Linked DNA regions of Homo sapiens: region 2 is linked to region 1. The links are contacts of gene promoters, found by promoter capture Hi-C in human tissues and cell types (Jung and others, 2019). All regions are on one chromosome and are shown on one strand. The core of a region is centred on a gene start or on the middle of the fragment in contact, and the rest is flanking DNA. Distances in the headings are between cores, read along the strand shown. Region 1 holds the start of ETF1 (eukaryotic translation termination factor 1). Region 2 overlaps SIL1 (SIL1 nucleotide exchange factor).

Evidence for each region. The method cuts DNA at HindIII sites, captures the fragments that hold promoters and counts their contacts. A contact is called where the count stands out against the background at its distance.
Region 2: a contact is called between a fragment that was not itself captured here and the fragment with the promoter of ETF1 in region 1, in 1 of the 25 tissues and cell types used here (mesendoderm cells).

The regions. Positions count from the first base shown.
Region 1 is chr5:138,540,858-138,545,481 of GRCh38, reverse strand. ETF1 (eukaryotic translation termination factor 1) reads left to right here and starts at 2,246. Exons shown (of 11, transcript NM_004730.4): 1 at 2,246-2,385; 2 at 2,546-2,649. The coding sequence starts at 2,564. RefSeq lists enhancers at 1,015-1,804, 1,686-2,085, 1,805-2,594, 1,536-2,735 and a silencer at 2,376-2,425. The HindIII fragment of the contact is 28,551 bases long and covers 1-4,624 here.
Region 2 is chr5:139,064,610-139,069,561 of GRCh38, reverse strand. The region is part of intron 3 of SIL1 (SIL1 nucleotide exchange factor); the gene reads left to right. Among named protein-coding and RNA genes, the nearest start is that of SIL1, 130 kb to the left of the region's middle. The HindIII fragment of the contact is 6,028 bases long and covers 439-4,952 here.

The DNA of each region.
Region 1 (4,624 bases), core at 997-3,496:
CTCCGTTCACTACTAAACACAGTGAATGACACACACACAGCAGGAGTACAATATTATATAACAAATAAACATATGCCAAAAACTACAAAATGGAACCCAAAGAAGAGGTTCCAACCTGAGATTCATTTCCTGGGGGACAGAAGTATGACCGTGTCCCCACCCTATGAAAATACAGGTAATGGGGTCACTGTATAATACACTGGACTCCAAAAATGGAGTCGGGAAGCCATAAACTAGCTGTGGACTCTGAGCAGATCCCTTTCACTTTTCTTTGCCTCAGTTTCCCCATGTATGAAATGGAGGTCATACCCCCATCTTCAAAGTGTGGACACAGTTTATAACACATGCAAAAAGTATTCAAAAACCATACAAATGAAAGCGCATGACGGACATCCCTACTTACATGTCTCATAAGCAATCTCAAACTTAACAGGCCCAAGATGAAATTCTCAATCATCCCCCAACACCTACTCCTCACCTTTCCCACCTCAGTAAATGTCACCACTTCAGTACTCTGGGAACCATTCTTGGTTTTCCTCAACCAATCCATCATCCAGTCCTATTCACTTTTTTTTTTTCCTCGAGACAAGGTCTCGCTCTGTCACCCAGGCTGGAGTGTAGTGGTGTGATCTCAGCTCACTGCAGCCTCGAATTCCTCGGCTCAAGGGTTTCTCCCACCTCAGCCTCCCAAGCAGCTGGGACTACAGGCGCGGGCCACCACACCAGGCTAATATTTTGTAATTTTGTAGAGACGGAATCTTGCCATGTTGCCCAGGCTGCTCGCAAACTCCTGGGCTCAAGCGATCCTCCCCTTTGGCCTCCCAAAGTGCTGGGATTACAGCCGTGGGCCACTGCACCAGGCCCTTCATTCACTTCTATCTGCACTGTCACCACCCTAATGTAAGCGAAAATCATCTCTCACATGATAATGAAGCAGCCAAAATGGTCTCTGGGCTTCTCCTGTACTCTCTCCAGTCCACACCAGGGCTCTAAACCCTTTAAACTACCCACTGTTCTTGAAAGAAACCAAACTTCTGAATCTGGCTTAAAAGACCCTACATGACCTCTTCCCCTGCTGCTCCCTCAAACCACTCTCCCCGTCCCTGACCTTGTGCCAGCACACTGGCGTTTCTGTAGTTCTCAACTGTATTCTGTTTCCTCCTGACAAACTCTTAATCATCCTTTGGGTCTCATTTCAGAGCTGGGTCCCCGCCATACACTCTCAGAGCACCCTGAAGTACTTAAGCATTTGTGTAATTATTTTATTACAAAAAGTATAAAATCACAAACTTAAAAACCCAATCGACTATAAGCTCCATAAGGGTAAGTACTGTCATCTGTTTGGTTCACCTCTGTATCCCCAGGAAAACAGGGTCCAGCACACGGTCTGGGCTCAATATTTGAACCCAGACGAGGTGAGGGGGGACAAAGTAGCCACCTAAAAATCCTAACTCAAAAAGATAAAGTTCTAACCGTATGTGGATGCCCATTTTGTTTCAACTCTCTCCACCCCCATTCTCAACGGCTCAGGCCAAATCATACATGGGACCAGATACCTCAGGTCTCCAAGCTCAGGCAGCCCCCGCTGTCTTCCACCCCATAAAGTTCTAAGTCCAAAGTGAGCCCGTCCTAGCTCTGGGGCGAGAGAAAACAGGCCTCTTTCGCCCCTGCAGGTGAGGGTCCCGGACCGCCCGGAGGCAGGTTCCTCATCCAGACCTACTGGCCAGGACTCCTCCACACTATTCCGTGCAGCCATGACGCACGCAGACCGCAGCACTTCGTCAGCGAAGAAGCCGCTGAGCGCGAGGCGCTTCTTCGCGGCTTCTCAAGCACCGTTCAAACCGCGCGTCGGGCCCAAGTGCCTAGCTTCGAGTCGCAAAGCCTCAGATGTCCACCCTATTCAAGGAGAATGGACTGAAAAGACGACGACCCCGGTCCTCTCTCTTTAAGAACCACCCCCATTCGAGCCTGACGGGGGCTCTCAGTAAACTCGCGAGAGCCACCGGCTTCCGCCCGCTTCCTCCTCTCGCCTTGCCGGGCCGGAAGAAAGGTGGCACCTCCCACCCCCCAGCCTTACCTCACAAGGCGGCGCGGACCCAGCTGCAGCCAATCGGCGGGCTCATTGTAGGCTGCGGGGCAGAGAGCCAATGAGAAGTCGCGGCGGACGCCCAGCTTCTCCTCACTCGCACCGGCCCCCTCCCTTCCGCCTGCCGCCTTCCACTCCGCCCCTGGCGGAGGAAGTGATGTCACAGGCCCCATGTGAGCGGATTGCAACACATGCAGCTGCCTGGAGAGAGGGAGCCGGTGTCCTACGTCAGAGCCGCCGCCGCCGCGGAGCCGCCGCCGGGGAGGAGCAGCCGCTGCCGCCCAGGACTGGGCCCTTAGGTAAGGCACAGGGAGGGAAAGGCCGGTGACCTTTGTGGCGAGCTGCACCGGACGGGAGGAGAGGGCCTCTGGGGGATGGCGAGGAAGGGGGCCGCTCTGCCCCAGCGGCGGCGCTAACTCTGTGGTCTTGGTGTCTCCGGGCCCCGCCGGGCCGCTCTAGGGAGGAGGAGGCGAGAAGATGGCGGACGACCCCAGTGCTGCCGACAGGAACGTGGAGATCTGGAAGATCAAGAAGCTCATTAAGAGCTTGGAGGCGGCCCGCGGGTGAGCGCCGCGTCCGGCACCCTCCGTGCCCTCTTGGTTCCCGGACCCCTCAGGATGGACGCCCCCGCGCCGCATGGCCGGATGAGGAGAACCAGGCACTAGCCAACTCCCGCCTTCTGGATCTCTGGGTAGTAGCCCCTGACCCAGGGGCGAGGGTCGGCGCGGTTGGCCCGAGAAGGGGTCCTTTCCCCGCATGGGGGTAAGGGGCCCGCGCTCCCCGGTTTAGATCACTCGGCCCCCCTCGTGGTAGGCCACCGCTACTTTTGCACCTCTCCCGGGCCCTTAAGTCCAGGTCCTCCCTCTTCGGGCTCCAGGTGCTGCCACCCGACTCGGGTGCTATTGTGGCAAAGTGTTCGGCCTTCCTTTCCCAGGGCCCTTCCCTGATTTCCTCTTCTCCCTTCATTTCTCAGCCAGGCCTCATTAAAATGGCCTCTCCCTTCTGGGCTTCTGAGACCCGGGTGGGTGAAGTTTGGATGGGACGGGAAGCAGAGGTGGCCAGGGACAGCTTCTTTCTGATTCCTGATTTCTCTGGGTCTTCCACCTGTCCCAAGATGACTTCTCCCAAGTCCTCTAATTACCCCGGAGCTTCCTGGTTTTAGCTGTTCCAGGACCCACCTATAAACTGAAAATGCCAACGTACGCGCGATGTGAGGGGTGCTGGGTAGGTTTTGGTTAATGAATCTGCATGTGTATGTCCAGGAGAAATACGGGTTAGGGGGCCGTTTGATAGGAATCATAACTACAGAGTCCCTGCTGGCATTTCTCTGAAACTTGTGGGGATATCGCTGTAGAGAGGCGCCTGATGTGCTTGATGCTTGTTGAGTGAGATTCATAATTGAATTAAATGGGCTTTGAGTCTTGTACATTTTGATAAGAAACTGTAGGTGTGTCCATTGGGGGGAGAGTAGGCTAGATTAAAATTAGCTGTGTGTGTGTGTTTTCTTTTTTTTTTAACGTTGTTCGTTTGAGGAAGGTGTGCCAGGGGTATTCCTGTTTCTTTTATTACTTTATTTTGTTCCTTTCCCAGTCATAGAAACTTTTTACTTACAGGAAGTGCCCCCCCCCCCAAAAAAAAGTGTTTGGAACATTATTACATACTTGTATGTCTGAGCATTCTTAGAATAGTAGAATGGCCTGCCTCAGGCCATGTGAAAAGTTGATTTCAGCACAAGAATTTGACATTCTGGTTTCCAGCCCAGGATTGTCATTTATGGGTAGATTTGCAATTTTAGAATGACAGCCCCTCCAAGCTCTTCATTATTACTGTTATATGAAACAGGATGTGCTTAATTGTACTGAAGGCCCAATTCACAGGTTGGTTTTACTAGTGTTTTGTTCTTAATAAATTAGGGACAGTTCTGTTTGGAATGAGGCTTCTAAAAGTTTGGCCCCATTCAGTGACGGGCTTGTGCTCACTCCTTCGGTTTACTGGAGAAACGTTAGTTTAATATGAATCGAAGACAGCGGCTTGTTAGTCCTTAGGTTTTTCTTTGAATTCAATAGAATATCCAGACCTTCTTAATGATCTTACAGGAACTTGTGCCGTATGATAGAGTGACCAGTTATTCCCAAAATGTGAGAATACTGTACAGAAAGGGTAACATAGGTCACGACCCATTATGTTGCACTACCAAGAATTAGCCAGGTTCTTTTGTTTCAGTAGGATCTTGTTTTGTTACTTGAAGCCTTCAATCCAGTATTGCATTTTATAGATTGCTGTTGTTGCAGTATTGTATATAGGTGGATGTGACCTCTGGATTTGTTCTTACTGCTTTCAGTAGCAGGCAGGTTTACACATTTTAATTTGCATACGTTATATTCTCTGAAACAGTCCAAAAAATTAAATCATGACTATAATTTGCCTGTTTGAATGAAGTAACATTGAAGATGACATTGCTTAATAAGTAACAGCATTCCTTTCTACTGCTTAATGAAGGAAACTCATTCTTAAATTTGTTCTACCCATGTTACCTAG
Region 2 (4,952 bases), core at 2,203-4,702, 520 kb before region 1:
TTTCTTGAGCTTTTAAAAAGAAACATGGTTTTTGGTATTCTGTTTGCTTGTTTAGGGTTTCTTATATTTATGTTGGGTCTTCTTTTGTCTTTCTTCATTGTTTATTAGTTTGTTACAAACCTTACTTTTTCCATTTCTGTTTGGTTTTTCCAACTTTCCTCCTTTTCATGTTCTATTTATCTTAAGGCATTTTCTGTTGTGATTATTTGTTCTTTTATTTCTGATTCTTCATTGAGTTCTAGCACCTCATTTCTTTTTATTTAATTTTTTTTTAGAGGCAGAATCTCGCTCTGTTACCCAGGCTGGAGTGCAGTGGTGCTATCATAGCTCACTGCAATCTTGAGCTCCTGGGCTCAAGTGATCCTCCCACCTCAGCCTCCCAAGTAGCTGGGACTGCAGGTGCATGCCACCATTCCTGACTGACTTTTTTATTTTTAGTAAAGATGAGGTCTTGCTGTGTTACCTGGGCTGATCCTGAAATCCTGGTTGCCCAGGCTGGTCTCAAACTCCTGGCCTCAAGTGATCCTGCTGCCTCAGCTTCTCAAAGTGCTGGGATTACAGGTGTGAGTCACCATACACAGCCTCTAGCACCTCATTTCTGATTTTTGTTATTGAGTATCTTGTACCATTTAACAAATGTCTTTAGTGCATTTTGAAACAGGAAGTTACAGTTTTTATATGTTTGTGGCCATGTCTTTCTGGCTTACTTTCATTGTATGTAGGGATGTTATTCTTTTCTTTCTTCTTCTTTTTATTATAATTTTATTGTATAGGATTGTACCATAATACTTTCTATTGCTCATTTTTATGTGAAATTAGGTTTCTTGAACTTTTAGAAAAAAGCATGGCTTTAATTACCTTTTCTAAATCCATAGTGCTTTCTCTTCTTTTTTTTTTTTTTTTTTTCCTTTTCATTCTGAGTCAAGCTTGAGAAAGTTTTCTCTTCTCTTGTTTTCAGGTAGTGTTCAAAAACATGGCAGCTTGCTTTATGAGGTTTCCTGGCTCTGTTTTACTCCTCCAGTTTTATCTGGACTCTGTTTCCTTTATTTCTGTCGTCCAAGTCTACTCAGTTTTGATTTCACTTCTAGCCGTATTTTCTCAGTGTGGGGCCCTGTCCTGGTAGGGAGCACTGGTTAATTTTGAGAGTTCAGGGGACTAGACAGCTGTGGCCCCTTGAAGTCCTACCCCAGACTTCTTGTCCTTGTCCACTGTTAGACATAGGTTCACTTGCTGTTACCCATTGGCCCACTATAATTTTTAGTGAATGCCTATCAGCTACTTAGGTGTTTTCTTGTTCTTAGGTCTCTCAGCCAACTTGTTGCTTCCCAATACCTTTGCACTTGGTTTTGATAGAAATGTTGCTCATGGGTTTAGTTTTGCTCTCTAGTCAGTCTGTTTTTATGTGAGGATTTGGTAGATTAGACGACGTTGCTTTTGCCACATTAACATATGTTCTTTAAAAAGAAAGATGAAATCATATATATGCAACTTATTTTTGCTTAGTTTTAGTGATCTTGTTTATGTCAGTACAAAGCTCCCTCTTTTTTGTTGAAGACTAATATATTCCATTGAAGGGATATGCTGTATTGTGTAACAAATCCCCTACTGATGGACATTTGTATTGCTTCTCATTGTTTACAATTATTAGAATGCTATAGTGAACACTCTATCCATATATCATTGTGCACTTCTGTGAACATTTCTATTAGATAAATTCCTAGACATAGCATCTGCTGGGTCAAATGGAATGAACAGTTACAGTTTTGATAGATGTTGCCAGATGCCCAAAAGCCTTGCACTAATTTATCCTTACCTACAGTTATTAGGATGCCGGTTGCTGCAAGGCCTTGCCATTATTGGCCCAGAGGCTCTTCAAGGTATGAGTGTTTATGTATGTGTTTTGAGAGTGATTTACAGTTTTCTCTAAGAAACTCATGAGACCTATGGACCTTTTTAGAAAAATGTAAATGTGTACTTAAAACTTTCACATATAATCTCAGAGGCTTCACCAGCTGGTCTCTAGTAATATTGTTCTTATTCTTGTTTTCCTAACCACCAACCACTTCTGCTTGATGAACTAGGAAATACTTGAATGTTTAAGGATAAAGAGCAGTTGTAGAGCTATGACCAATAGTTCATCAAATCCTGTTATCAGAGGTGATAATACTCTGAAGCCCATGATAAAGTCTGATGTGTGTGGTTTAGTAGTAGTTAAGAACTAAACAACACTTCTATCCCATTCTATTTTGATGCTTGCTTGTTTCTGTCTTTGCAATTCTCAGTCTTTGTATCTTTCTCTTATTTTCCTTGTGGGTTGAGGAGTGATGCTGTGGAATTAAAATACATTTAAAAATAAGAAGTTTATTTTCCCCTTATCCCAAGTTAAAGGCTATCTTTGCAACATCCTTCTGCCCCACATTTCAGAAAGAGGAAATTGTTTTTCTTTCCATAATGCTCACTCATCTTTGTTTTAGAACATATACACAATGGACATTCGCTATGTACCAAGCACTCTGTTCAGCAATGCAGGGAATATAAAGATGTTCTGACTTCAAGAATAATACAATCTATTGGGGAAAACTTGGCAAGTATTATAATTTTTATGGATTTGTTTCCCTCACTAGACCAGTGATCTCTTCAAGAGTAGAGAGGCAACATGGCGAAACCCTGTCTGTACAAAAATACAAAAATTATCTGGGTGTGGTGTGCATGCTTGTAGTCCCAGGTACCAGGGAGGCTGAGGTGGGATGATCACTCGAGCCTGGGAGGTCAAGGCTGCAGTGAGCCGTGATCATACCACTGCACCCCAGCGTGGGCAACAGAGTGAGACCCTGTCTCAAAAAAATAATAAATAAAAGTAAAGTAAAAAGAGTAGAGAGGCCATGTCTCACTTTTAATTTTCCTAAAACCTGGCACATAGTAGATGGTCAGTAAATGTCTGTTTAATGATTAACAAGAAGCCAAATGACTAAGAGAAAATGAATAGAGGAAGTGTCATTAGAAAAGAATAAGCAAGGCACTAGAGATTGAAAGGATGGAAAGATAATGTATAAAACTGCATGGAGTTGTTGCTCAAGCTAGCCTATTAAAAAATGGACTGTCACTTGAGCTTGGGAGGTCAAGGCTGCAGTGAGCTGTGACTGCACCACTGTACTCCAGCCTGGGTGGCAGAGCAAGACTCCATCTCAAAAAAAAAAAGCATTGAAATTTGACAGGCAAAAAGCAAGGAAAGAGATGGCATTAAGGACTAAGAAAAGCATAGGGGGAGTTTAGCCAGAGCGTGGGGTAGCTGTGGATGAGGGGCGATAAGGCAGAGAATATCAGCAAGGATTTCATTAGGTTAGGCAGGCCTTGAACACCATGAGATAGTATTATTGGTACTTCGGAGGGCAGCAGGGAGCCACTGAAGGCTTGTAAGAAGGAGAGTGCCAACAAGCCTGTCCTGGGGGATGCTGTACTTAACTGCAGTGGCACAAGGAGGGAACATTTATCTTTTCAGTGGGGGCTGGGTCTCATGATCTCCTGAAGTTCTTTCTAGCTCAGAATGCTGAGGTCCTGAAGTTATGAGGGATTTGCCTTCTCTTTTATAAATCTGAAATGGAAGTTTGAAAGAGGATATCAGAGAGATGACTTGTTGGGAGACGACTTCTGTCAAAAGTGATCCAGACCACAAGTAGTCAGTAGGGCCTGAATCTGCCTATGAATAGGAGGGAGCACCAAGGCCAGAGGTTCCATATACTTCTGCCTGGGTACTTGGAGAAGACTCAGGAGTGTATAGTGGGTAGAGTGTTTCTCATCAAGTGACAGCACAGAGTTCCCATTAGTTGCCCAGGATTGGGTGTATGGGGGTGCAGTTGGGGGCAGCATCAGCTGTTGTGAAGGTGGGGTGGAGGTGTGAGGCAGGCTGCTTGTTGGAAGTGTGCACAGCAGCAGCTTTGCTGGAGCACCAACCTTGTGTGCATTGGCCTAGAACATCCAGGCCTCCTTGCCCATGCTTGGGTGGGCACCTGTCAGCACAGCCCTCTGAGGAGCAGAAACCCAGAGCAGGGTAGCTGCTTTTATAAGCTCTTTGGTGCATTGTTGCAAAACTGGCTTAAGTTTGTGACTGAGCTAAGTTTATCAGGAAACCTGAAGCCCTTCTTCCTTGTTGCCAGCTGGCAGTTGTGCTCCTTTAAATCCTCCCCACATTTGCTTCAGTTTTGCTGCTGGATATGGCCTCTTTGATTTCTATTCTGATGTCTTGGGGAGTGAGACAGAGACTGACCCATCTTAAGTGGGTTTGGTGGCCTGCAGGTTGGCTGAGCCAAGGAAAGCTGTAGTGGGTGTTTTCGATGTGGTACAGGCTAAGTTTAAACAGCTCATTTGCTGCCCTCTCAGTTTGGATGCCCCGCAGCCCTCATTGTTACTGAATTTTTTGCAGCCTTAACAAGACAGCCTGACATGAATATTCTAAAAAATCATGTACTCTTCTTTCCTCTGCAGAACTCAATCAAGTATGTATTGAGAGCCGATTAACACTCAGTTTGAGCATCTATCATGGCATGGCCCTGGTCTTTTTCTCATAGCTGGGAAAACTGAACAAGTCACAGAGAGGCAAGAGCCAGGCAGAGAACATTATTGAGAACTCTCTGGTGTCAGCTCTGAGCATCTCCTATGCATGATCTCTTATTCCTGGCAGTGAACCCTGTGAGCCCTGTGAAGTGGGTACTCTGATGCCCATTCTGCAGATGAGTCATAGGTGTTATTTGCTCAAGGTCTCAGAGCTATTAAGTGGTGGAACTGGACCTGGAACCAGATCTTCCTGAGTCTGTGCCCTCTGCCACCAGCTGAACAATTGCCTAGGTCATCCGAGTGCTAAAGGCTGCAATTCCTTCTAGTGAAACCAGCAATACAAGTGAAGAAAGCAAAGCACAACACTACTTAGTAGGTCTCTCAATACCAACGATCCAAAA